Regions from separate parts of the Homo sapiens genome. Here regions 1, 2, 3, 4, 5 and 6 are each linked to region 7. Evidence: promoter capture Hi-C in 16 types of primary human blood cells and fetal thymus (Javierre and others, 2016). All regions are on one chromosome and are shown on one strand. The core of a region is centred on a gene start or on the middle of the fragment in contact, and the rest is flanking DNA. Distances in the headings are between cores, read along the strand shown.

Evidence for each region. The method cuts DNA at HindIII sites, captures the fragments that hold promoters and counts their contacts. A CHiCAGO score of 5 or more calls a contact.
Region 1: a contact is called between a fragment that was not itself captured here and the fragment with the promoter of POLR1A in region 7, in 3 of 17 cell types (erythroblasts, megakaryocytes and M1 macrophages). The highest score is 8.7, in erythroblasts.
Region 2: a fragment that was not itself captured here is called in contact with the fragment with the promoter of POLR1A in region 7 in 1 of 17 cell types (erythroblasts); the score reaches 7.1 in erythroblasts.
Region 3: a fragment that was not itself captured here is called in contact with the fragment with the promoter of POLR1A in region 7 in 3 of 17 cell types (neutrophils, M0 macrophages and M1 macrophages); the score reaches 7.8 in neutrophils.
Region 4: a fragment that was not itself captured here is called in contact with the fragment with the promoter of POLR1A in region 7 in 5 of 17 cell types (erythroblasts, M0 macrophages, megakaryocytes and 2 more); the score reaches 9.4 in erythroblasts.
Region 5: a contact is called between a fragment that was not itself captured here and the fragment with the promoter of POLR1A in region 7, in 3 of 17 cell types (neutrophils, total B cells and monocytes). The highest score is 9.2, in neutrophils.
Region 6: a contact is called between the fragment with the promoter of CHMP3 here and the fragment with the promoter of POLR1A in region 7, in 1 of 17 cell types (non-activated CD4 T cells). The highest score is 5.4, in non-activated CD4 T cells.

What each region holds. Positions count from the first base shown.
Region 1 is chr2:85,637,884-85,641,537 of GRCh38, forward strand. USP39 (ubiquitin specific peptidase 39) reads left to right here. Exons shown (of 13, transcript NM_006590.4): 9 at 1,320-1,508; 10 at 3,093-3,235. Among named protein-coding and RNA genes, the nearest start is that of USP39, 24 kb to the left of the region's middle. The HindIII fragment of the contact is 4,567 bases long and covers 122-3,654 here.
Region 2 is chr2:85,603,110-85,607,052 of GRCh38, forward strand. It overlaps C2orf68 (chromosome 2 open reading frame 68), which reads right to left. Exons shown (of 4, transcript NM_001013649.4): 4 at 2,145-3,943. It also overlaps a transcript of USP39 not described here. Among named protein-coding and RNA genes, the nearest start is that of TMEM150A, 2.4 kb to the left of the region's middle. The HindIII fragment of the contact is 1,143 bases long and covers 1,667-2,809 here.
Region 3 is chr2:85,678,137-85,681,722 of GRCh38, forward strand. It overlaps LOC105374842 (a long non-coding RNA gene), which reads left to right and starts at 3,212. Exons shown (of 3, transcript XR_940317.3): 1 at 3,212-3,372. The HindIII fragment of the contact is 5,932 bases long and covers 1-3,586 here.
Region 4 is chr2:85,654,944-85,658,913 of GRCh38, forward strand. It overlaps SFTPB (surfactant protein B), which reads right to left. Exons shown (of 11, transcript NM_000542.5): 11 at 2,371-3,970. Among named protein-coding and RNA genes, the nearest start is that of SFTPB, 11 kb to the right of the region's middle. The HindIII fragment of the contact is 1,889 bases long and covers 863-2,751 here.
Region 5 is chr2:85,696,171-85,699,725 of GRCh38, forward strand. GNLY (granulysin) reads left to right here. Exons shown (of 5, transcript NM_006433.5): 4 at 1,336-1,507; 5 at 2,394-2,682. The coding sequence ends at 2,404. Among named protein-coding and RNA genes, the nearest start is that of GNLY, 3.6 kb to the left of the region's middle. The HindIII fragment of the contact is 2,607 bases long and covers 673-3,279 here.
Region 6 is chr2:86,562,146-86,565,760 of GRCh38, forward strand. CHMP3 (charged multivesicular body protein 3) reads right to left here and starts at 1,298. Exons shown (of 6, transcript NM_016079.4): 1 at 1,159-1,298. The coding sequence starts at 1,203. The region is part of intron 3 of RNF103-CHMP3 (RNF103-CHMP3 readthrough); the gene reads right to left. CHMP3-AS1 (CHMP3 and RNF103 antisense RNA 1) reads left to right here. Exons shown (of 6, transcript NR_183901.1): 1 at 1-102; 2 at 701-775; 3 at 1,123-1,254; 4 at 1,543-1,637; 5 at 1,832-1,995. RefSeq lists enhancers at 724-893, 904-1,003, 1,161-1,455, 1,614-1,673. The HindIII fragment of the contact is 23,374 bases long and covers 1-3,615 here.
Region 7 is chr2:86,104,342-86,108,189 of GRCh38, forward strand. POLR1A (RNA polymerase I subunit A) reads right to left here and starts at 1,545. Exons shown (of 34, transcript NM_015425.6): 1 at 1,359-1,545. The coding sequence starts at 1,435. PTCD3 (pentatricopeptide repeat domain 3) reads left to right here and starts at 1,894. Exons shown (of 24, transcript NM_017952.6): 1 at 1,894-2,010. The coding sequence starts at 1,907. RefSeq lists enhancers at 1,065-1,154, 1,355-1,564, 1,945-2,204. The HindIII fragment of the contact is 4,349 bases long and covers 1-2,273 here.

The sequences.
Region 1 (3,654 bases), core at 1,155-3,654, 470 kb before region 7:
CGGGGCTTCACCATGTTGGTCCAGGCTGGTCTCGAACTCCTGACCTCAGGTGATCTACCTGCCTCGGCCTCCCAAAGTGCTGGGATTACAGGCGTGAGTCACCGTGCCTGGCCCTCAGCTAAGCTTCCTAGATGGTCTTAGAGCTTTTCTTTTTTGAGATGGAGTTTTGCTCTTGTTGACCAGTCTGGAGTGCAATGGCATGATCTCAGCTCACTGCAACCTCCACCTCCCAGGTTCAAACCATTCTCCTGCCTCAGCCTCCGAAGTAGCTGGGATTACAGGCATGCGCCACTATGCCTGGCTAATTTTTCTATTTTTAGTAGAGAAGAGGTTTTACCATGTTGGTCAGGATGGTCTCAAACTCCTGACCTTAGGTGATCCACCTCCCTTGGCCTCCCAAAGTGCTGGGATTACAGACATGAGCCACCGTGCTCGGCCCACTTTCTTTTTTTAATGGATTTTTTTTCCTTTTTGAGACAAGATCTCTGTCACTCAGGCTGAGTGTGGTGGCGTGATTATGGTTCACTGCAACCTCAACCTCCCTTGCTGAAGTGATCCTCCCACCTCAACCTCCCCAGAAACTGGGACCATAGATACACACCACCACACCGGGCTAATTTTTATTTTTATTTTTGTTTAATTTAATTAATTAATTAATTTATTTATTTTATTGAGACGGAGTTTCACTCTTGTTGCCCAGGCTGGAGTGCAATGGCACTATCTCGGCTCACCGCAACCTCCGCCTCCCGAGTTCAGGTGATTCTCCTGCCTCAGCCTCCCGAGTAGCTAGGATTACAGGCGCCACCACCACGCCCGGCTTATTTTGTATTTTTAGTAGAGACGGGGTTTCTCCGTGTTGGTCACGTTGGTCTTGGACTCCTGACCTCAGGTGATCTACCTGCCTCGGCCTCCCAAAGTGCTGGGATTACAGGTGTGAGCCATCATGCCCGGCCAATTTTTTTTTTTTTTTGTAGAGATGGAGTCTCACTGTGTTGCCCAGGCTGGTCTGGAAGTCCTGGACTCAAGCAGTCCTCTCACCTTTGTTCCCAAAGTGTTGAGATTACAGCCGTGAGCCATCACACTTGGCCTCAGGGCTTTTTAGATAGTCTGGTATATAAGCAAAATATCTTTAAAGAAGGAAACCTGTTGGTTCTTAAGTTAATCTAACCAGGTGGTGCATGCCAAACTGCCCAATCTCTCGGGCACTTCTCTTTGTTCTTTCAGATGAAGGAAATGTCGGCGTGGTAAAACATCGGTTCTGTGTTGGTTCCTATACCCGTCACACTCCTTTCCTCTCTTTTCTTCTCATTCATTTCTAGCCAGCAGAAGAAAAAGAGCAGTTGCTCCATAATGACGAGTACCAGGAGACAATGGTGGAGTCCACTTTTATGTACCTGACGCTGGACCTTCCTACTGCCCCCCTCTACAAGGACGAGAAGGAGCAGCTCATCATTCCCCAAGTGCCACTCTTCAACATCCTGGCTAAGTTCAATGGCATCACTGAGAAGGTAGCCCATTAACACACCTGCCCTGCCTATACTTACCCTCGCTCTCTCGACTTTTTCATTTTCTTTTTTTTTTTTTTTTCAAGACAGAGTTTTGCTCTTGTCGCCCAGGCTGGAGTGCAGTGGCGTGATTTCGGCTGACTGCAATCTCTACCTCCCAGTTTCAAGCGATTCTCCTGCCTCAGCCTTCCTAGTAGCTGGGATTACAGACATCCGCCACCATGACTGGCTAATTTTTTATATTTTTAGTAGAGACAGCATGTTGGCCAGGTTGGTCTCGAACTCTTGACCTCAAGTGATCAGCCTGCCTCGCCTCCCAAAGTGCTGGGATTACAGGCGTGGGCCACCACACCTGGCCCATTTTCATTTTATATGTAAGAATCACCACATGTATGTGACGTATTTATTATAAATTATATTGACTTTATTGAGCCTCCCAGACTCGTTGGTATTTCTCACTGGTCACCCCCAACTCTTAACTTATAGTGCCCCTTTTTATTATTTTTTGAGACAGGGTCTAGCTTTATCACCTAGTCTGGGTGATCATGGTGGCGTGATCATGGCTCACTGCAGCCTCAAACTCCTGGGCTCAAGTGATCCTCTCACCTCAGCATCCTAAGTAGCTGGGACTAGACACACTCCACCACATCCAACTAAGTATTTTTGTAGAGAGAGTGCTCACTTTGTTGCCCAGGCCATTCTTTAACTCCTGGCCTCAAGGGATCCTCCCACCTCGACCTCCCAAAGTGTTGGGATTACAGATGTGAACCACTGCCCAACCACAGTGCCCCCTCTTGTACTTCTCATATATCCTGTTTTCAGCTTTCTGCCTGCCTCTGGGGTAGTATAGAGAAAGGAAGGTCATTTAGGAGAGGAGAAACTCCAAAAAGTGGGGAGACATACTTTTTTTTTTTTTTTGAGATGGAGTCTCACTCTGTTGCCTAGGCTGGAGTGCAGTGGTGTGATCTCAGCTCACTGCAACCTCCACCTCCCGGGTTCAAGCGATTCTTCTGCCTCAGCCTCCCGAGTAGCTGGGACTACAGGTACATGCCACCATGCCCAGCTAATGTTTGTATTTTTAGTAGAGATGCGGTTTCACCCTGTTGGCCAGGCTGGTCTCGATCTCCTGGCCTCAAGTGATCTGCCTGCCTCAGCCTCTCAAAGTGTTGGGATTACAGGCATGAGCCACCGTGCCTGGTTAGTTTTCTTTCTTTACATATATATATATATATTTTTTTTTTCTTTTTTTTTCTTTTTCCTTTTTAGTAGAGATGGGGTTTCACCATGTTGTCAAGGCTGGTCTCGAACTCCTGTGCTGAAATGATCCCCCTGCCTCGGCCTCCTACAGTGATAGGATTATAGGTGTGAGCCACCAGGCCCGGCCTTTTTTTTTTTTTTTTTTTTTAAATCAGCCTTAGCCAAACTGCACATCCTAAGCCTCATACATAATTTCTCGGACCAGGAGTCTTGTGAACTTAAGTGTGAGGCAAAATTATATTTTAAAAAATCGAAATGAAAAACTCATGCCCCTGCTCTAATACTACTGAACTTCAGCACTAATTTGAGAATTTTCTTTTCTTTCTCTAGGAATATAAGACTTACAAGGAGAACTTTCTGAAGCGCTTCCAGCTTACCAAGTTGCCTCCATATCTAATCTTTTGTATCAAGAGATTCACTAAGAACAACTTCTTTGTTGAGAAGAATCCAACTATTGTCAATTTCCCTATTACGTAAGTAACATCCTGCCTCACTTCTCTCACGGGGAGTGAACCTGGATTTCTTCTCTTGTATTTTTACCAGTATTAATTTTGGACTGTCTTAGTTGGGGATTACAAGGAACAGAGCCTACCTACAGTAGATAAGAGTTTTTATTGGAAGGATACACTTATTTCAGGGACCACAAAAGATTGATGTTTATTGGGATGCAATCCCTATTTTATCTTCTCTCCTGTTGCTAGCTGGAAATTATAGTCTTCCTGCGTAGAGAAGAAGAAATGATGCAAGTAGGATAAGACAGGTAGGATTCTGCCTGGTTTGGAAGATGTCCTGAGTAGTGAGGGTCTGCCCATCTATTTGCTGGCCATCACACCTTTTTGCACACTAGAGTTGTACTAGATGCTTTTAGTTTGCTTCCTTCCAACTCAGAAAA
Region 2 (3,943 bases), core at 988-3,487, 500 kb before region 7:
TGGCGCCCCATGCCTGCCTCTGGCCAGGGCTGCGGTGGGTCCAGAGAAGCAGACACAAAGACTTGGCTGTTTCTTAAGAAATCCAAGCGCCTGGGATTTGGCTTATGGTTCCTGTGGCTCAGCAAACTCCGGAGGAGGGCTGCTTTCATTAGATACTTTTTGCTTTCCTGCATACAAGTACACAATGTACTAGCCAGAAATCAGTGTCCAAGACGTGTTTCCCGACTGATCAACACTTATTTGAAATAAGACGGCAGAGACCAGAGGACATCCATTCTAAATAGACACATGTAGGTGTCAGTGTAGAGTAGGTAAGGATTAACATGGCCAGTGTTGGTAAGCAAAGAGGGGAAGGTGAGAGACCCGGAGGAATCTGGGAAAAGGAAACAGGATAGTGTGGGAAAAATTACTGACCAGCTTCACCAAAAACTTACAGGCTATGAGTGCATTCCTGGATGTTTCTTTTTTTTTTACTTTTTCTTTTTCTTTTTTTTTTTTTTGAGACGGAGTCTCGCTCTGTCGCCCAGGCTGGAGTGCAGTGGCGCGATCTCGGCTCACTGTAAGCTCCGCCTCACGGGTTCACGCCATTCTCCTGCCTCAGCCTCCCGAGTAGCTGGGAACTACAGGCGCCCGCCACCTCACCCGGCTAATTTTTTTGTATTTTTAGTAGAGACGGGGTTTCACCATGTTAGCCAGGATGGTCTCGATCTCCTGACCTCGTGATCCGCCCGCCTCGGCCTCCCAAAGTGCTGGGATTACAGGCGTGGGCCACTGCGCCTGGCCCGGATGTTTCTTAAATTATTGCAAGGGTGGAAATACTTTCACATATCAGAAGTGTGCCTGGCATTCTGTCTCAAAGGCGGTCCCAGCATCTGTTGGAGCCCTTGTGAGATGACAGATCATCACCTGAATGGTGCACAGGCGCAGGTTGCCCAGCGTGGGGAGCTGAAGTTTGGCAACACTGGTGAGGCAAAGGCTATGTGAAACAACAGGGTCCTGTGCTTTAGAGAAGTAGAGCAGAATAAACTGCACAATGACTTGAAGAGGGAGAAACCTTCTTGGACCCAGTGGAAAGCAGAAATGGAAGCAGAAAACCTGTTGGAGAGCCCTTTTTCTTTTGAGACAGAGTTTCACTTGTTGCCCAGGCTGGAATGCAATGGTGCAATCTCGGCTCACTGTTACCTCTGCCTCCTGTGTTCAAGTGATTCTTGTGCCTCAGCCTCCCGAGTAGCTGGGATTACAGGTGCCTGCCACCATGCCCAGCTAATTTTTTTATATTTTTAGTAGAGACGGGGTTTCACCATGTTGGTCAGGCTGCTCTTGAACTCCTGACCTCAGGTGATCCGCTCGCCTTGGCCTCTCAAAGTGCTGGGATTACAGATGTGAACCACCGTGCCCAGCGGGAGAGCCCTGTCCTTAAACACATTAGGACAAGTAGTTAAAACAGGGCCAAGAAGTATGGCTGTGTAGTGATCACTGTACAAGCACACCTGGCTGAATAAACCAGTGGGGGATAAAATCCAGCTCACCTGCCGCTGGCTATGCTTTGTGCCTCAGGACAAGGGTGTGCTTCCTTGCTAATTGACAGGAACCATCTTCCTGCCCAACTGCATTCCCACTGCGTAGGCACCTTATCTGCCCAATGGGGCTGTGAACCCTAATTGGAAGCTTTGCAATTCTTAACACTATATCTTCTTGAGCTGGGTTTGAGTCCCTATCCAATCAAGATGAAGGCCTGAGAGGACTACTCAAGTTCTAACATGATGTGGGGGCAAGGCATAGTAGTCCAGATCCGGGACATGAGGCAGCTTTTGGCTTAGTATGACAATCTAATAGTTCCTAAAATAGAATTATCCCAGGATGGAGCTCCGTATGACAGAAGGGCTCTTCATAGGTAGTTGGTAGGGGGAATTGTGTATCATGTAAGAAGTAGGACCAGATGTCTTTAAAAAGACCTTCCAACTCTAATGCTACATGAGTCTGTCTAGTTGTTATGTTCCAACAGGGACAGCTCTTAAAATAGTGTGGCAAAGCAAGAGATGAGATTTCCAGTGCTGACTCGGTGGTGGAATGACTTTAGGGCAGGTATTTAACCTCCACTTCCCCAAGTACACAAGTTATTTCACAACTCTTGGCAAAAACAGTGCTGTAAAAATCGTAAGTTTATTTGTTAAAAAAAATACTGTATTTGAAAAGTACCTTCCTTCTGGGATTTTCAAATAATTTGTACACTACATTTTATTCATCTACACATTGGAAATGAGTAAACTGGTGAACATATAGCTTTTTATACATTTAACACAACCAGTGCAAATTCTCCTGCCTCTGAGAAGGCAGAGAAGCCCTTTACTCAGAAGGTCTTCAATTCTAGCATTACTCCAACTCCTAGGGAAATTTCGGGTGGGTGCCTATGGCTGTATGACCATCTGATTCCTCAGGGACAGGACAGGAATTCAGCAAGGGAGCTTAAAATATTTTAAGTAATTGTCAACATTCCATGGTGACTCTCCCCAAAAATCTAGTGGTAGGAAAATAATCTGTACTTATTCCTCTTTCTGCACACAAAGCCCTCATTTAAATTTGTGAGCCTGCTTGGGATCCATTACCTAGCCATTCAGAGATCCTGTCAAATGCACAGCAGATTGGATACTCACCATCCCAAAGGGGTTCCTCCCACCTGGATGGGGCCAATCTCTAGTTGACAGTGCCCCTCAGAGTGCACCATGGAGATGGAATGTCCCTTCCAGAGAGACTTTTACACAGGGAAAAGCATTTGTTGGCTGGGCTCCAACTCTCATTTGGTACAAAAAGCTTTACATTCTTTTCCCTTTTTACATTACATTCTTCAAAGACTTCCGTGCTTGCCAGCTGGATAACAACTCAAGCTCTAGTGTTTACTCTTGCACAGCCCCAAACCCTTGGAAACTCAGCTTCGTTCTATCAGTGACATCACCCATTGTGGCCGAGGAACCACAAAACCTTAAAATACAGGCTTAAATTCAGCAAGCGAAGAACATTCCATATTGAATGGGCATGAGATATGCCTATCAGATTGTGTGTGTGTGCGCGTTTTTTAAAGACAGCCAATTACATCGTATCTAGTCAAATGAGCGGATTCTAAAGCAGCCTGCTGGGATGTTCCACTTAGTCTAATGCTGTTGCCACTGTACGCCACAGCACCGGACAGTGTTCTTTGGGACATCTCTGGGAAATGCTCTGGAACATGCTCCTTGATGGAAAACACTAATTTTTGAAAGAAGTAGATGTCTGGAGGCAGGTCTGGTGAATAAACTGAATAGTACTGCCTTGGACCCCAGCTGAGGGGTGGCAGTAAGCAATGAGGATGGGCTATAAAGCTGTTAACTGGCTAAGGGCCATCCTTGGGCAGGCATTTCAGACACATCTGTAGAGAGGGCAGTAGCATCTCCGATAGGCCAGCTCTGAAGGAAGCTTAATGCTTAATACAGTCACACTGCATAAATTAGCTTAGAATGCTCTCTTGGGTAAAAAATATTAATAGTGTATATGCACTTGAAAAGCAAAATTCCTCAAGAAAAAAAGTTTAATAGCAAGGAGTTTCCATCAGTCCCGGTCTTTGTGAGGATTACCACAACAAACACTTAAAAGGATACAACAGGTACTTATTAAATGCTGCCTTGCCTTTTACCTCTTCCTTTTTTTTTTTTTTTTGAGATGGAGTCTCGCTCTGCTGCCCAGCCTGAAGTGCAGTGGTGTGATCTCGGCTCACTGCAACCTCCGCCTTCCAGGTTTAGGTGATTCTCTTGCCTCGGCCTCCCGAGTAGCTGGGATGGACTACAGGCACATGTCACCATGCCCAGCTAATTTTTTGTATTTTTAGTAGAGACGGGGTTTCTGTGTTAGCCAGGACGGTCTGGATCTCCTGATTTCATGATCCGCCCGCCTCGGCCTCCCTACCTCTTCC
Region 3 (3,586 bases), core at 169-2,668, 430 kb before region 7:
CCTCTCTAACTCTCCTTTCCCCCATCCCCTGATAATCATTCTACTTCCTGTCTCTATGATTTTCACTGTTCTGTGTCCCTCCTAGAAGTGGACTCATATAGTATTTGTCTTTGGTGACTGGTTTATTTCACTTAGCAGAGTGTCTTTTGGGTTCATCCATGTTATCATGCATCTCTTATAATTTCCTTCCTTTTAAAGGCTGTGTGCATACACCGCATTTTGTTTATGGAATTATGACCCTTTTAAATGTCCCTAAAATTGCACCTGTTGGCTGTAGCTGCGCCTATAGGTTGTAGCTGGAGGACATTCCTGCCCATTGTTGGTTTCTGTTCCTTTCTGCCTTTCTGACCCAGCCTCCAACTGCTCCGGTCTAAGGAGATAAGAAGCCACACAGGCCTCTGGCAGGGGCTGGGTCTCCTTTCTGCAGGAAGTGCTTCAGGCCCCTCTTCTTGGTCTCTCCCTGAAGTAAGAGGCCTCAAGTGGAGTCCTGAGGGGCATGATGAGGGCTGTGCCCTGAACAGGTGCAAAGTATGGAGGGAAAATGTGGAGCCTGAGGAAGGCATCTTGAGGCTGGAGCAGGGAAGGCCGAGTGGGCACCTCCTTAGTTGAGCTGCCTTAGGACAAGGGAGCAGTGATGGTGGCTTCAACAGGAAAAGAGAAGCTGATTCTGACTGGAAGGGCACCAGCTGCCATTCCTGCAGGAACGAACAAGTGTTTTCCCAGGAAGATGGGGTCAGGTCGCTGAATCTGATGGGTCCTGGCTCTGTGCCCAAGTGCTGTTCCAGGCACAGGGTGGGGGTGACAGAAGGGGCAGCGCAGCCCTGCTCTCACCAAGCCACCTGTATGAGAAAACACAACAAAGACATTCCTTCAGCCACTAGGAGCCTCTGTCTCCAGGAAATTACCATGAAACCCCTAAGTGTAGTGGCTCAGGGCCACAAAGCTACGTCCCATGCCCAGGCTCAGGCCCATTATGTGTGGCCAGGGACTCTGCTCATCACAGTCACCCCGGGGCACAGGCTGACTTGCAGTGGTCGTCTTGAACACTGCCCATCATCATGCCAGGAGAAAAGAGAATTCTGGGGTCTCTCCCTGGCTGTTAAATGTTCCAGTTGGGAAGGAACAGGCTTAACTTCTGCTCAGGAAGCAACCTGGCAGGACGCCACCCAGCCTTCCCAACCCTCACTCGCAAACACAGGGCGGCCAGGGAGTGCAATTCCAAAGCAGGACCGGAAGGTGGCGCCCGGGAGCCAGGTGGAGATGCACCGCCCTGGGCAGCGCGATCCCCACACCTTGCCCTTCGCGGACTTCGCTGCAGCCCAACTTTCTTGGGGCAGCTGTTTCTGCTGAACTAAAGGAACACCAGGGGGTCCAGTCTCTCGACACCCCAGGGCCCACGCACCTGCTGAGGAAGGCGCTCCTTCATTACAGGCGGCAGCACCGAGTACCTGGGCTTTACAACATTTTAACCTCCCCTCCCCTCCCCTTCCCTCATTTTTCTTTTCTTTTCTTTTTTTTTTTTTTGACGGAATCTCGCTCTATAGGCCAGGCTGGAGTGCAATGGCACGATCTCGGCTCACTGCAACCTCTGCCTCCTGGGTTCAAGCGATTCTCCTGCCTCAGCCTCCCGAGTAGCTGGGATTACAGGCATGTGCCACCACACCCGGCTAAGTTTTGTATTTTTAGTAGAGACAGGGTTTCACCATGTTGGCCAGGCTGGTCTCGAACTCCTGACCTCAGGTGATCCGCCTGCCTCGGCCTCCCAAAGTGCTAGGATTACAGGCGTGAGCCACCATGCACGGACAAGCTGTTCTTTCTTACTGTTTACACTTATTTGTGTATATATATATATTTTTGAGATGGAGTCTCGCTTTGTCACCCAGGCTGGAGTACAGTAGCACAATCTCAGCTCACTGCAACCTCTGCCTCCCAAGTTCAAGCGATTCTCCTGCCTCAGCCTCCCAGGTAGCTGGGATTATAGGTGCCCACCACCACACCTGACTAATTTTTGCATTTTTAGTAGAAGTGGGGTTTCACCATGTTGGCCAGGCTGGTCTCGAACTCTTGACCTCAAGTGATCATCTGGCCTCGGCTTCCCAAAGTGCTGGGATTACAGGTGTAACTCACCACGCTGGGTCCACTTATTTGTAATTTGATCATTGTCTTCTCTCCCACTAGAAAGTAAGTTCCATGAGGGCAGGCCCCATGTTCATGTTTACTCATCTTCCTGTTCTCAGTGCCTGGCGGAGTACCTGGCACAGAGTAGCATTCACTTGGTGTTTGCTGAATCAATGAACATGACCGAGGGCTGCAGTCTGAGGTCTGGAGGCTTTGCAGACTGGTTGGGGGCACCATCCTAAAGGCTATCAGAGCAACTGCTGAGAGAGACTCCAACCAGGCTGGAGCTCCACTTGTAGCAGAGTCCCAGTGTTCTGGCTGGGCAGGGAGTAGGGCAGTTCTGAAAATTGACAGGGAGGTCTGCCCCAGCCCAGCCCCCAGGGGCTCTTGTCCAAGTCCCAGTGACAGGATGTCTGCAAGTAAATGCTGAAGGAGATGCTTCAGCTAAAAGCTCCAGGACATGTAGGTTCAAATGGCCTAACAAACTGGGAAACCAGAGTGGAGGGGAGACATTCTCATTTCAGGATAGACCCTGGCTGCCTTGGGGCCTCCAGGGTGCTAGGGGACACAGCCCAGCTCTGCATCCCTGGCAGAGATGGCCACATCCAGCAGGCCCTGGTGGCACTGCAGAGAGAACAGCACCCTGGGGACCAATTATCCTGGGAAACAGGCTGGTGCCTATCCAGATGGTGGTGCCAGGCACTGCCACTGTACAACTGGCTGATTTGGTGAATAAGTTGCAGACATAATTGAAGGGCAATTTGTTGGGGATGTAAAGTACTGCAATGGCCCACAGGGTAAGAGACAGTAAAATAAGGGTAAATGTCACCACTCAGAATTTACACACAGGTTGGTATGCCTCAGGAAACTTAGGTTAATAATGAAAAAGAAAAAAACACAACAATACGAAACACTGGAGAAATACTGGCAGGATGTGTATCACCTTGTTGATAATGGTATTTCTTGGTATAATTACATGTGGTCATTACTCATTGTCTTTGTACTTTGAAAAAAAAATTAAGCCAAAGGAAAAAAAAAAACCTTCCTTTCCCAGTCAAATATACTAGCAAACAAGAAGCTGTTAGAAAACAATTCTCGCTGGTGTAGATTTTGTCCTGTTTTGGTTGTGAGGATGAGGGGCTGGTGTGGATCAACAGTCCTGAGGGGGAAGCAGGAATCCCAGAAGACGGAGGGTCAGGCTGGGGAATGCAGTTCTGGAAGCTGAGAGCAGAGTGCCCAGTCCTTTCACATCAGGTATGAGTCAAACGCCAGGACAGGGGTGTGGTAAAGGTCAGGCACCAGGACATCCAGGGACAGAAGCCAGCAGACAAGTGAGGCTGCAGGGGAGGCCAGGGTCATGTGGGTCATTCTGGGATGGAAGCTGATAGGTGGGAGAGTGGAGAAAGCAGGCAGGTAGGGCTCGCAGCCAGGTGAGGGTTCAGAGTGGGCGTATATGAGCCTCAGTTCT
Region 4 (3,970 bases), core at 557-3,056, 450 kb before region 7:
TATATATATTTTTGGATTAGCAAAGTTTGAAAGATTGTTAATACCCCAGTTTGGTGAGAGTGGAAAGAGGCACTTGTTTTCTTTTGGGATAGAAGTTGGTACGGCTGGCACAGAGGCCCAGATTGATAATCCAGCCTCTGTTAAAAGTAAAGGTGTCCCCCAAATTTCATGTCTTGGAATTGATTCTAAGAAGACAGACAAACAAAGATGTAAGTGCGAGGATTTTTATTTTTTGCAAATCGTTGATAATAGTTGCTTAAAAAAGAAAGGGCCGGCCGTGCGCGGTGGCTCACGCCTGTAATCCCAGCACTTTGGGAGGCTGAGGCGGGTGGATCACGAGTTCAGGAGATCAAGACCATCTTGGCTAACACAGTGAAACCCCGTGTCTAGTAAAAATACAAAAAAAAAAAAAAAAAAAAATTAGCTGGGCGTGGTGGCGGGCTCCTGTAGTCCCAGCTACTCAGGAGGCTGAGGCAGGAGAATGGCATGAACCTGGGATGCGGAGCTTGCAGTGAGCTGAGATCACGCCACTGCAATCCAGCCTGGATGACAGAGTGAGACTCTTGTCTCAAAAAAAAAAAAAAAAAAAAGTAAGGGCCAGCCATGGTATCTGACGCCTGTAGTCCCAGCACTTAGGGAGGCAGAGGCAGGAGGATTGCTTAAACCCCAGAGTGATCGCACCACTGCACTCTAGCCTGGGAGACAGAGCTGTCATGTGGCAATTAGCAATAATAGTAGATACTTACATTTATTGACCTGAAAAGGTTATTGTTAAATGAACAGTGCAGGTTACAAAGCAGCATGTATAGGATGTTTCCATTTTGTAGATCTGCTGTATCTGTTTTTGTATATGTGCACAGAAAGCTTTGGAATTATAGATAATAACATGTTAATAATGATTATGTCGTGGATTTAAAATTTCAGTTATTCATTAGGGGGACATAATGTAATTATCTTTATTTCTCTATAACTGAACTCATTTTGGCTCATGAGCCCTCAAAACATATTATTTCCATTTCGGAGTAACTCATTCCCTTCTTAATACTCAGCCTCTCTTGGCTGACTAACCACTGAATCCTCTTTCCCCTTTCCCTGGGAATGATTTACAGATTGCCCTGCGGTGAGGAGAGGCACTGGGGACTAAGCATTCCCTGGCCATCCAGGTCTCTCTGGAGTGTCTCTCGTCTTGCCTGATCATCATCTTCTTGTGCCATCACTGCTACACATCTGATTTCTGCTCATCTCAAGATCCACTAAATCTGTCACAGATTCATCCCCAACCGTGGGCTCTTACGGGTGCACCATCTTGTCCAGAGCCAATTCTGACTGCCTCTCGGTCTGTGGGTTGAGGTTGCTCTTCTGCAACCACATCACACTGGGAACACTCTGTGAGGCAGACCTCAGGCCAGCTGCCTAGCTCCATCCCTCAGGCTAGCGTCCTCACCCTTTCTGATGTCCTGTGAGAGGCAGGCTTCTCTTAGAAGCCCACACCCTGGAAAGTGAAGAATAAGTCCCCTCCTCTTGGGCTATAATCCCTCCTGGGACTTCTCTTCCCCCAACTTCCTAAGGGCAGAGGTGCAGGATGTTGGACACTTCTCAGGGACCCTAGGAGTCTCAAGTGTAGCCACTTCCTGCCAATTCTGTCCTCCTACCAGCTAGTCAACTCTTTTTTAAAATTATTTATTTATTTGTTTTTGAAATAGGATCTCTCTGTGTCACCCAGGGTGGAGTGCAGTGGCATCATCACGGCTCACTGCAGCCTTGACCTGGATTCAGGCGATCCTCCCACCTCAGCCTCCTGAATAGCTGGGACCACAGACACACACCACCATGGCCAGCTAATGTTTGTATCTTTTTTTTTTTTCTTTTAGACAGAGTTTTGCTCTTGTTGCCCAGGCTGGAGTGCAGTGGCGCAATCCTGGCTCACTGCAGCCTCTGCCTCCTGGGTTCAAGCAATTCTCCTGTCTCAGCCTTCCAAGTAGCTGGGATAACAGGCATGCACTACCACATCCAGCTAATTTTGTATTTTTTTTAGTAGATATGTGGTTTCACCATGTTAGGCTGGTCTGGAACTCCTAACCTCAAGTGATCCACCCACCTCAGCCTCCAAAAGTGCTAGGATTACAGGTGTGAGCCACCATGCCCAGCCAAATTTTTATATTTTTTATAGAGATGGTGTTTTGCCACGTTGCCCAGTCTGGTCTTGAACTCCTGGGCTCAAGTGATTCACTCACCTCAGCCTCCCAAAGTCTGCCAATTCTTGACCTCCTTTTGAATGAAGCCGCCTTTTTCATTATCAGGCACTCATTCCCACTCATATTTTTGGGATAAACTATTAATGCCTCCAGTTCTTCAAACATTGGCTCTTCATTGTCTCAATCAAACTTTTTTGTTTTTATTTTTTTAAATTTAAAACACCCTTTTCTCTCAGAGAGTTGGATTTTGTAATGGAAACAATGGCTTTAAGGACAGTAGTTAGCTATAGATTTACAAATGTCTACTTAAAATCCAGGAGCCAATGAATTGTGTGTCTCATCCCCAGGCCCAAGAGCAGGCTGCATAGACAGCTCTTTCTGGCGCTTGAACGGTGGAGGTGTGGAGCCAGAGGCTGTGGGGAGAAGATGGAAAAAGCCCCAAGCTCAGTGTCAAAACACACACCCTGCCGTAGCTCTCTCCTGGGCTAGGTGGGATTGTGGGTGTCACATGCTTCCCTGTGAAGAGACTACCAAACAGGCTTTGTGTGAACAATAAAGCTTTTTAATCACCTGGGTGCAGGTGGGCTGAGTCCAAAAAGAGTCAGCAAAGGGTGGTGGGATTATCATTAGTTCTTGTAGGTTTGGGATAGGCGGTGGAGTTAGGAGCAATTTTTTGTGGGCAGGGGGTGGATCTTACAAAGCACATTCTCAATGGCGGAGAGAATATTACAAAATACCTTCTTAAGGGTGCGGGGGTGCGGGCGTGGGGTGGGTGGGGAGAATATTACAAAGCACCTTCTCAAGGGTGGGGAAGGTGTATTGTCACAAGGTCAATTGATCAGTTAGGGTGGGGCAGGAACAAATCACAATGGTGGAATGTCATCAGTTAAGGCAGGAACTGGCTATTTTCACTTCTTTTGTGGATCTTCAGTTGCTTCAGGCCATCTGGGTGTATACGTGCAGGGCACAGGGGATATGATGGCTTAGCTTGGGCTCAGAGGCCTGACAGTGGGTAATTTCCACTCTCTTTGTCTGTAGTTTCTGAATTTCTTACAAGAAACATGTATAAGAAATATGACAAAAGTTATTTTATAAATAAAGGGACACTTCCAGGCATTTCAGTCTTTAAGAAAAGCTAAGGCTTGTTTGGCTTTTTGTTTATTTTTAGGTTTTTGGTGTCCTCATGACCTAACCTCATCCCAGTGAGTAGAGACTGGGAGGGGAGAGCAGCAGCTGGAGGGCAGGCTGGGAGCGCTTGTGAGGGAGAGGAGCTATGGACGTCTGCTTCTCTGCCAAGGGAGAGAGTGAGGTAGGCCTGGGCCCGCTGACTTCAGGGTGAGGCCACAGCTACTGCAGCGCTTTTTATTTATTTATTTATTTACTGAGATGGAGTCTTGCTCTGTCACCCAGGCTGGAGTGCAGTGGTGCAATCTCGGCTCACTGCAACCTCTGCCTCCTGGGCTGCAGTGATTCTCCTGCGTTCAAGTAATTCTCCTGCCTCGGCCTTCTGAGTAGTTGGGATTACAGGCATATGCCACCACACTTGGCTAATTTTTTGTATTTTTAGTAGAAATGGGGTTTCACCATGTTGGCGAGGCTGGTCTCGAACTCCTGACCTCAAGGATCCTCCTGCCTCGGCCTCCTAAGGTGCTGGGATTGCAGGTGTGAGCCACCACGTCTGGCCATACTGCAGCACTTTAAAGGACGGTGTCTTTTTCTTTCTCATAAAAGAGAATAGGACTTTATTAGCATTGGTGCAGACATTGTATTACACA
Region 5 (3,555 bases), core at 726-3,225, 410 kb before region 7:
GGCTTCCTAGAAGGGAATCTGTGAGTCCCCGTGTGTCTGTGGATGAATTTCAGAGAACTTGTGAAATTGTGACTCTCTGGAACTGTGTAAGTCAGACGGCAGAGTATACATGGTTTTCATCATGTATCCTCAAAGAGGGCTTGTCCCAGAGAAGTTAGGAATCTTCCCCTAAAGCCCTAACATTTGTGTCCAAGGCAGAGTTTGAGAAGCTAGTTCCCCAAGAGGCCTGGGTCAGGACTGATAAATCCCAGATCTGCTACTTCCAAGCTGCATGGCCTTGGGCAAGTCACTTCCACTTTCTGAGCCTCTGTTATCTTATCTTTGAAATGTGATGGATAATAGTCCCTATCTTGCAAGTTGTCAAACCCTTTTTTTTTTTTTTTCCTTGAGATAGGATCTTACTCTGAGACCCAGGCTGGAGTGCACTGGTGTGATCTTGGCTCACTGCAACCTCTGCCTCCCTGGCCCAAGCAATTCTCCTGTCTAAGCCTCCTGAGTACCTGGGGCTCCAGGTGTGCGCCACCATGCCCAGCTAATTTTTGTACTTTTGTAGAAACAGGGTCTCACTGTGTTGCCCAGGCTGGTCTCCAACTTCTGAGCTGAAGCAATCCACCTGCCTTGGCCTCCCAAAGTGTGGGATTACAGGCATGAGCCACTGCACCTGGCTGCTGAAGCTTTTTAAAAGAGCTGAGGGCTGGGATGTACTTAGCTCCACGTCCAGCACTGAGTAAATGCTTAACGAATGACTGTGTTACTACCAAGAATTATTGTTTCACTCTCCCTCCTTCCCTCTCCTCTGCTGCCCCAAACTACTCAGCATCCTGGCACTGCAGGCTCGCACTTAGCCCTGGATACCCAGATTCATCCTCCTCCCCTGGGATGGCATAGAAGAGACTTTAAAACCAAATGAGCCAAGACTCCAAGCTCTGACCACACCTCCCACCCCACCAGTCTTCTCTATGCACCCCCTCTATCTGGAGCCCCCAGCCAGGTCCTGGACCCAGGTAGCTACATGGCAGAGCATTTAATGTGTGCCTGGCAGCCATGGGCACCATTCTCCACACAGAAGGCAGGGGACAGGTGCACAAGGCGCTGAGACCCCAGCAGGGCTAACTGTCCTTGTCTCAGGAGCCCTACCTGGCCAGTCTTGGGCCAGGCCTTGGGGACTGGGAGTAGGGGCTGAGCCCCGTCTGTACAGTCTCTGGCCCCATGGGCACCAGGTGCCAGCTCCTCGCACCCAGTACTCCCATTGCTAGGGCTGCTGGAACCTGCAGGGTGGCAGAGCTGGGCAGGACTCACCCTATAACCATGTCCACTGTGGTGCTGCTGCTGCAGAGAAGTGTTTCCAATGCTGCGACCCGGGTGTGTAGGACGGGGAGGTCACGATGGCGCGACGTCTGCAGAAATTTCATGAGGAGGTATCAGTCTAGAGTTACCCAGGGCCTCGTGGCCGGAGAAACTGCCCAGCAGATCTGTGAGGACCTCAGGTTGTGTATACCTTCTACAGGTGAGTGCAGAGGTGACAGCAGGGATACCTCCTGAGGGTTGGAGACAGCTTCCCCCAGGATATATCAAAGCTGCCTCCTTACTCCCCCATCTCCCAGCTTGGGAAAGTGTGGAGAATTGAGCAGATGGACTTTAGCTAGAAATGTTTGAGAAATACTGATTAGAGCTTGGGCTTCAGACACAGGTGGTCGTGGAGTAAAATCTGGTCTCCATCTCTCCCTGGCTGTGTGACCTTAAGCAAATAACTTGACCTCTCTGAGCTTCAGTTTCTTCATCTGTGAAGGGGAGATAGCAATCCTGATTTTTGAGATTGGAATGAGAATTGAAGGAGGTCACCGTGTGTGTGGACCTGACCCTGGGGAAATGTCCTCAGACTGAGGCTATTCAAGGTCATCAGACCCTCAGTCAAACTCCAATCCCAGCCCAGCACAGGCCCCTGGGGTCGGGAGCTGGGGCCATATCCTCCCCCACAATCCTGGGCCCTGAGATCTGGGCTAGGGAACCCTTCAGGCAGGGGAGCATGAGGCCTTTCCCTCCATGGCTGCCCAGGCTGTGCCTGGAGAGAACAGATCTCGGCTGTAGGAAATGGGGCCAGAAAGGGGCCTCGGTGATTGGCTCTGGCAGCTCAGCTGGCACTTGCCAATGCTCTGGGATTTTATGCTGGCAGATCGGGGGTCCCCACCATTTCCTGTCATTGGAGCTTGTGGCTTTTCTATTCAAGGCCCCACAACCTGCTCAGGCTGCCGACTGGCTTCCAGGATGTGCCTCTGGGTGTGTTCAGTAGGGTCAGGTGGCTCTGGGACCTTAAGCAAGTAACATTCTGAGTGCCTGCTTCTCCTTGAGGACCCACCACATCTGCCCACAGCTGGCTGTTCTCTCCTCTCCAGGTCCCCTCTGAGCCCTCTCACCTTGTCCTGTGGAAGAAGCACAGGCTCCTGTCCTCAGATCCCGGGAACCTCAGCAACCTCTGCCGGCTCCTCGCTTCCTCGATCCAGAATCCACTCTCCAGTCTCCCTCCCCTGACTCCCTCTGCTGTCCTCCCCTCTCACGAGAATAAAGTGTCAAGCAAGATTTTAGCCGCAGCTGCTTCTTCTTTGGTGGATTTGAGGGGTGGGTGTCAGTGGCATGCTGGGGTGAGCTGTGTAGTCCTTCAATAAATGTCTGTCGTGTGTCCCATACACTGTTGTAGATGTTATGGATTTAGTGGTGAACGAGACAACCTTAACAGCATTCACACAGTTAGTCGTGAAATGCTTACTGAGCACTCACCACAGCCATGCGTTATTCAGAAAGGCCAAGGCACACAGTGGCGATGTCCCCAGAAGCTCTCAGACCAGTGGGATAGACCAGCAGGGTTAGAGGTGTTTTTGTTTTGTTTTTGGTGAAAAGGAACAGAAACCCATCCTCTTGCTTCTTGCGACAGGCAGCCTTCCTTTGCGGTTTCGGGGGAGTGTATCTTTTAGGGCCCTTTTGGTTGCAAGCAACAGAAGTCTCAGCCCATTCTGGCCTAATCAAAAAAGATAATTTACTGGTTCAAATAATTAACCAGTCCACGGGTATGTTCAGGCACAGAATGATCCAGAAATGTGTGGCGTCAGCAGAGCCCCAGTCCTGTTTTATTGCAATTTTTCGTTCTCCCGACCTCTGTATATTGAAATTGTCTTCAGGTTCGCTTCTCTCTTGGCAGCAGAAATGGCTTCATCAGGTCCACACTTCACCTCTTTACAGTGCCTCCATCAGAGGGAGAGAGAGCTCCCTTGGAAAGAAATAGGAAGCTTCTTTCCCAGAAGGCCTATCAGCTATCTCCTCAGTTCTCATTGGCCAGTTCTCACAGGTCATTTGCCCACCCTCAGACCAATCACTGTGTCCTGGAGAATAATGGGGTACACTGATTGGCTTAAGCTAAGCAGGGCACACCCCTGGAGCTGAGGTGGGGTCCATCTCAACCCAATCACTTGGTTGACAATAAACATGAAAATCTGGGCTACTGTTGGTGGGAAGAGGGAAAAATGGATGCTGGCCACCCAAGGAGTATGGTGTGTTATTCTG
Region 6 (3,615 bases), core at 48-2,547, 460 kb after region 7:
TTAACAACAACAACAACAAATTTACATTAACGCACATTATGTGCCAGGAATTGCAAGATGCATAAGATTAGTTTTTAAAATGTGCCTGCTAGAGCTGAACAGGTAAGATCATTTATTAAAGGATTTCAGGATTTTTTTTTTCCATTATGGACAAGCCTAGGTGTTGCAGAGCAGTGCTTCTCAAAGCACTGATGTGCACACTAATCATTAGGGAGCTTGTCAGAATTCAAAATCTGACTCAGTGGGTCTGGAGTGGTGTCCGAGATTTAACAAGCTCCCAGGTGATGTTGATGCTGCTGGTTGGCATTTGAGTAGCAAAGCTGTGCCGTATTTAAAGAATTAGCCCTAACTACCAATATGAAAACTTTACATCCCTGAATCTTCAATTACTCTGAGGTGACACTACTATTATTCTGGCTTCACAGTCGAGAAGGCACTGAGAAGTGAACTTTCCAGAGATCACAGAGCTGAGATGTGGGAAGGCAGGATTCAAACTTAGGTTGACTGACTGCAGGGCATTTTCAACTGTTTGCCTCCCAATATTATCTCAATTAATAGGTAACGAGAGTTCGAAGCCGGGTCCAGAGCTATCTTCTGTAACATTCTTCTGGGTCGAGTCCCTGCCCCGCTACGGTATGTGCCTAGGGTCAACACAAGGGCTGGGGAAAGAGGAAACTGAGCCTCTTTTTCAACACAACAGGGAGGACGGAGAACAGACGGCTCCTCCGGCAGACGCGACCCGGCCCGCTCCAAACAACGCTTCGGGCAGGAGAAGGTTCTCCGGGTGGTCCGCAGCCGGGCTGGAGGGGTGGGGCCTACGCTGGGAAAAGGTTCCGGGCGGGTCGTACCAACGCGCGCAGGGGGAAGAGGTTTCCGAGGCCAGGACGGTGTCGCTGCCTACGCGCTCAGTGGCGAGGTGGAGAAACTCTTCATCCACCCTCGGCTACCTGTTCGAGAGCCATGGCACCAGGAGCTCTCGCGTCCCACAGCCGACTCCTAAAGACTCTTCCTCCGGCCCCCCTGTCGAGTGGGAGTCCCCGGAAATGGGGGCCGGGCGGTATCGGGCAGGCGGTGGGGAGAAGAGTGTCCTGTCATTTACCAACTTCACTACGCCCCACACAGATCCACCCGCTTATCTGCCGCCGCCGTAGCCCTTACCAGTTCTTTGGGCGGCTTCTCCTGGGTCTTTCCAAACAGCCCCATGACGAACTGAACCCGTCTTGCCCCTTCCGGCTTTCAGTTCCCCGCGCCCAGGCAGGTCACGGGCAGCCGCCTGGGCGGGGCCCGCGGAAAAGGAGGTAGTCCCAACCCCCAGAGTAGGGAGCGGCGGCACTAGGGGATGTTGCGCATGCGCCATACGCCTGCGCAGAATCGAGTGAGTGGGAGACTAGTCAAAAAGGCTGACGTCATCGCACATGTTCTGGTCATGTCTGTGTGGGGGAGACCACGGATTCGGTGCTTTTCGTAAGGTGTAGAAATGATTGCTCTGAAAGATACGAATTTGTTGGCTACAACTGCTTCTAATACTTCACCTAAACCTAGATGTTGCACCAGAAGTCTGGATCTCCACGCAGACGTGTACACTTAGCATCACTTTCCCGACAGCTTCATCTTTGTGTCCAGTAGGCAACTCACAGGTGACAAACCAAAAATAACCTCTTTTTCCTCCCGCCAACCCACTCCTCCCCTCTGCTTGCACCACCATCACCTGGTCACTAAACCCTAGGCATCGTCCTCTCTCCCCTCTTACCAAGTCCCAACCATTCTAACTTCAATATGTCTGAACTTCAACCCTCCCCTTTCCATCCCAACTGCGGTCGTTTTTTTTCAGGCCATCGCCCTTTCCAGCGTGGGCGATTCCTGCCTAGCATTTGTCCATGTGTGTCCCGTCCTACACGCCACACTGACCGTGAGCTTAATCACACTCTCAAAGGAATCTGACTAAAGAGAACTAGACACATTTTAGCACGGACAGTTCCTGATTAGGCCTATACGGTGAGCTGATGGTTACTGTCATTAACTCATCCGAGGATGGTGAAGGGGACCATTTGTTACCTCAGCCCCATACTCCTGTCTCTGGTGGAATCATAAAATGGTTCGGCAGCTTTGAAAACATTTTGACAATTTCTTAAAATGCTAAACAAAGCCAGCCTTCCATTCCTAGCTATTTACCCAAGAGGGAAAAAAGCATATGTTCTTACAAAGACTTGTACACAAATGTTCATAGCAGCTCTATTTGTAATAGCCATAAACTGGAAACAATCCAAATGTCTATCAACAAGTGAATGGATAAACCAGTCGTGATTGATCCATACGAAGGAATAGTACTGAGCAATAAAAAAGTAAACTATTGATAAATGCAACAGCATGGATGAATCTCAAAATAATTCTGCCAAGTGAAAGAAGCCAGAACCGTATGATTCCATTTACATAACATTCTGGAAAATGCAAACTAATACATAGTGACAGAGAGTACATGGGCGGTTGCTAGCGGATAGGAGTGGGGTCAGAAAGAGGCAGAAAAGAGGGATTACAAAGAGACACGAAGTTTAGGGGGATGATGGATAATATCTTGATTGTGATGATGGTTTCACAGATGTATACAATATCAAAACTTACCAGGTTGGACACTAAGTATGTGCGATTTATTTTATGTCCAATCATACTTCAATAAAGTTGTTTTTAAAAAAGCACTGCCTGTTCATTGTGAAAAGTTAAACCCTCATTCTCACTTCCTCAGGGGAAAAGGTCTCAAAGGATTCACACCAACTATTAAATATAGTGTGAATCTTCTGAAACCTTTTCCTTTGGAAAATATACTTTTATTTTTATTTATGTATTTGTTTTTGAGACCGGGTATCACTTTGTCACCCAGGCTGGAGTGCAGTGGCAGGATCTTGCCTCACTGCAGCCTCTACCTCCCAGATTCAAGTGATCCTCCCACCTTAGCCTCCTGAGTAGCTGGGTGTCAGCCACCACGCCCACTGTGTTTTTAATTTTTCTGTAGAGACAAGGGTTAGCCATGTTGCCCAGGCGGGTCTCAAACTCCTGGGCTCAAGCGATCCTCCCACCTCAGCCTCTCAAAGTGTTGGGATTACAGGTGTTAGCCACCTTGCCCGGGCCTATTTTTACTTAGTTGAGATTATATTATATACATTGAGCCACCTCTCCCAGCCCTATTTTTATTTAATTGATATTATGTTATATACGTTGTCCTACAATTTCCTTTTAAACACATTTTATGTAGACTTTCATCAGTGTCAATACCTATGGCAGTCCATAGCAAGAATGTACCATAATTTATTTAACCATTTCCCTATTATATAAGATTGTTTCTAGTTTTTCCCTAGTAAATAATCCTGCAAATATAGGCACAGTTAAAAATTTTAAACTTAATACCAGTATCTTCCATATACATTGCACTATTGTGAACTCCTACCAATAGTGTATACCAGCACTCTTATTCCCTAAATCCATGCTAAAAGTGAATTTTAGCAATATTTAAAATTTTTGCCAATCTAAGGGCATAAAATATTGTTTTTAACTTTAATTTCCCGGACTATTAGTCTGGATAAGCATCTTTTCATATATTTGTTGGTCATTTGAATTTCTTCT
Region 7 (3,848 bases), core at 295-2,794:
GAGAGATCTAGAATAATTTTCCAGTTTCTAGTGACTATTTTGCACTACGTACACCATTTTGGAGGGGTAAGTAACCCCTCCCTTTGAAGAGGGATGCCGTGTTGAGTTTTTTTTTTTTTTTTTTTGAGACAGAGTATTGCTCTGTCGCCAGGCTGGAGTGCAGTGGCACAATCTCGGCTCACTGCAACCTCCGCCTCCTGGGTTCAAGCGATTCTCCTGCCTCAGCCTCCCGAGTAACTGGGACTACAGGTGCCCGCCACCACGCCCAGCTAATTTTTGTATTTTTAGTAGAGACGGGGTTTCACCATGTTGGCCAGGGATGGTCTCGATCTCCCGACCTCGTGATCCGCCGGCCTCGGCCTCCCAAAGTGCTGGGATTACAGGCGTGAGCCACCGTGCCCGGCCATGTTGAGTTTCTGATATGCATTTAGGCCATGTTGAGTTTTTGATATGCATTTAAGATCTCTGTGTGAAATTCAATTAAAGATGTACAGACAGCTGAACAAATGGGTCTGAAAATCAGGGAAATAAATTTGCGTTGGGGATTTAAATTTGAGACTATAAATCATGAAAGTGGTGAGATTGTCTAGGGACAATATTTACCATGAAGAAAACATTACTAGAATAGAATCTTGAAGAACATCAACATTTAAGGAGTAAAATGAGGTACAGACCTTGCTCACCAATGTGTCATTAACGCCTAGCTTGGTGCCTGGAAAAAACTGGATGCTCAATAAATGTTTGTGAGGTTATAGATCGATAGAGGAAGAGAGGGAGGTAGAAGTATTTGTCATAAAAATAGGAGAACTTGAAGACAAATAAGGTTCTGGAAGAAAGGAAAGTTTCAAGAGAGTGCATTGGAGAATGTCAAATGCTACCTTGATCAAAATGAAGACTAAAGAGAGTTCCCTTGATTTAACAACCAGACCGAGAATATAGCAGGGTCCTAGCAAAGAGAAGTTAACGCCTGAACTGACACTTGAAGGACAATCATTTTACAAACAAGAGGAAACTTACTACGTGCCTAATTAACCATGTCAGGTACACTATGGTTAATTCCACAAATGCTTGTTAGTTAACGAGGAGACTGGCAGATGATAACGCTGCAGACCAGGACCCTCCCCACCCTTATATTCCCCTACCTCAGCGCAAACTCTTTCCCCCAGCACCACCGGCCTCTTATCCAGGCAGTCCACGCCGGCCCAGGAACGTTCCCAGAACTACGGCTCCCAGCAGGACAAGCGCCAGACAAGCCTGGACTCAAGAGGATAGACTGGGCAAAAGCGCTTCTGGGAATCGTAGTTTAGGGCGCCGACCTCAAGATCCAGGCTGGGCACGCTACCCGACCAACTCCTTACTTGAGCTCTTCAGCCGAATACATCCCGAAGGAAATGCCCTGCAGCCGCCGCCAGGGCATGTTCTTGGAGATCAACATCCTCCAGGTCCGTTTTGAATTCCGACACCCCAAGAGACGTTCCACTCACCACCTGACTATTCTTAATTCAACCTCAAGCCCGGAGTCACCACGCGATTCAACGTGCGCTTGCGCGCGGAAGCGGTCGCAGGAACGACATTTACGTGGATGAGATCACTTCTACATGGGGGGGGAACAAATAGTTGTACGACTCTCTGCTCGCTCTTTTGTTTTGAAAACAATCAAAGATATATAAGACATCAAAATAATCATTTAGGAAAATTCCTCCGAGGCAAATCGGGTGTATAGAGCTTTTAGCTTCCGTGACGAAGTCTTTCAAACCATGAGCTTGCAACCTCCCATTTTATGATTGCTTTCGTCTTCTTCCGCTTCAGCCAATAGCGGAGCTGTTCCCTGCTCCCCGCCCACTGCGCCCCACCTTCCTGAAGGTCGAGGCACGCTTTCCCAACATGCTCTGCAGAGAAATCAAAGATGGCGGTTGTATCTGCTGTTCGCTGGCTGGGCCTCCGCAGCAGGCTTGGCCAGCCGCTGACGGGTCGGCGGGCGGGTTTGTGTGAACAGGCACGCAGCTGCAGGTAAGAGACGCTTAGGGTATCCGCGAAGAAGACCGCGGAGTCACCTTAGTCCTATGTTTCCCAGCTGGCTGTGGAAGTAGGCACGATGAAATGGTTTGCTCATGCGCGCCCTTAACGGTCGCGTGCCCTTAAGACCAGGTACGCGGAGGTGGCCCTTTGAAATAGGATTCGCAACGCATTTATTCATTAGAGAAATACTTATTGGTTGCTTGCAATATTCTGTAGTTAACACCATCCGCAAAGCTAGGACCCTGCTCTCATGAAGCTTGCGTTCCAGTGAGTGTGGCTATTAGCAACACTACCCCAAATTAAAAATTATCCGCCATTACTCATTTTAACCCAATCAGGAGGAGCGAGGAGAACGTACAAGATCTTCCCAAATAAAAGGCAGTCTCTGGTCGCCACCGTGGGGACTTTGGCTAAAGAAGTTATCAGGTTTTCGTAAAAGCAGAAAAGTCTAAAAGATCTGACTATGCCCTTTTGATCTGTGATAGTTATAGCTTGGAACATGTATGACCTATCTGTGTAATTTTTTTTTCACTCAGTACAAACAGTGGCATTGTGGGAATATGAGAGGCAGTAATTTGTAGTGAAAACTTGCTAAAAGCCTAATTTTAGGTTTAGTGTTTGCCATTCACTTAATTGGATGATAATAGACAGATTTCCTCATCTGCAGACTAGAGTTGGTAATAACCATCCGAAAAGTTTGTGAGGTATAAGTGGGGTATGTAATTTACAATATGTTTTTATATGTACTCTCCCTTAGTTCCCCTCAAGAAAGAGAAACCACTCCATCTGATACTGCAGAAACCTTTGTGCTGCCATTCAATGCCAGTCCTCCGTTTCCTGGTAGCCATCGTTAGCATTTTTCTACTCATTTTCTTTGCCTGAAGCAGAATCTCTTCCTCAGCATCCGTTCTCAAAATAACTGTGATCTCTGTTTTAAGGTCATGAGAAACAAATAGTGTGACTTGAAAGAGTTGATCTCAGAAACTTGAAAGAGTTGATCTCTTTCTGAAATGTCCTTAACGTAGAGGGGTATTCTTGTTTTAAATGATACCTGAAACCAGATACTACTGGAGGAAGTATCTGTCTGTGCAATCACATCTTGACAATTTTCTGAATGTTACTGATGCCATTTAGTAAGGGGAAACACAAGATAATACTAACCGTCACATTATCTGTGGTGTGTTGACTGTGTTTTTAGTGTGATCAGAACACTTAAACAGAACACTTAAAAACTCAGTCATGGGCCAATGATTCTATATTTTGGTTTAAAAAGGATTTCATATTGAACCTCTGAAAATAGAAAATATCAGCAATTCCAAGTCTAAATCAGGCCTTATGTATTTGGTACATTCTTGATTGTTGAAAGAAGTGGAATGAGAAGCCATGGGTCATCTTCCCTATGTTGTAATTGCTTTAAGTGAGGTAGTCCTTTCTGATCAGGGCAGTATCTGTATAGAAGCAAGAGCTCACTGAATTGTTCTTTTAAACATCATAGTGTTTTGGGTTCCTGAAGTTGAAAGTTCTTCATTTCAAACCAGATTGTTCAAGTGCTATTAAAAACTTTCCTCCCTCTCTGCCATTTATGTAATGAGATTGCTTGCTTCCAAAACTTTTGTCTAGCCGGGCATGGTGGCATATGCCTGTAGTCCTAGTTACTCAGGAGGCTGAAGCAGGAGGGTCACTTGAGCCCAGGAGTTCAAGGGTTCAGTGAGCTATAATTGCACTACTTCACTAAAGGCTAGGCAATGGAGCAAGACCCTGTCTCTAAAAAAAAAAAAAAAAAAGTTTTGACAGTCTTGTCCATATCTTGTATCCATTCCTTAATGATA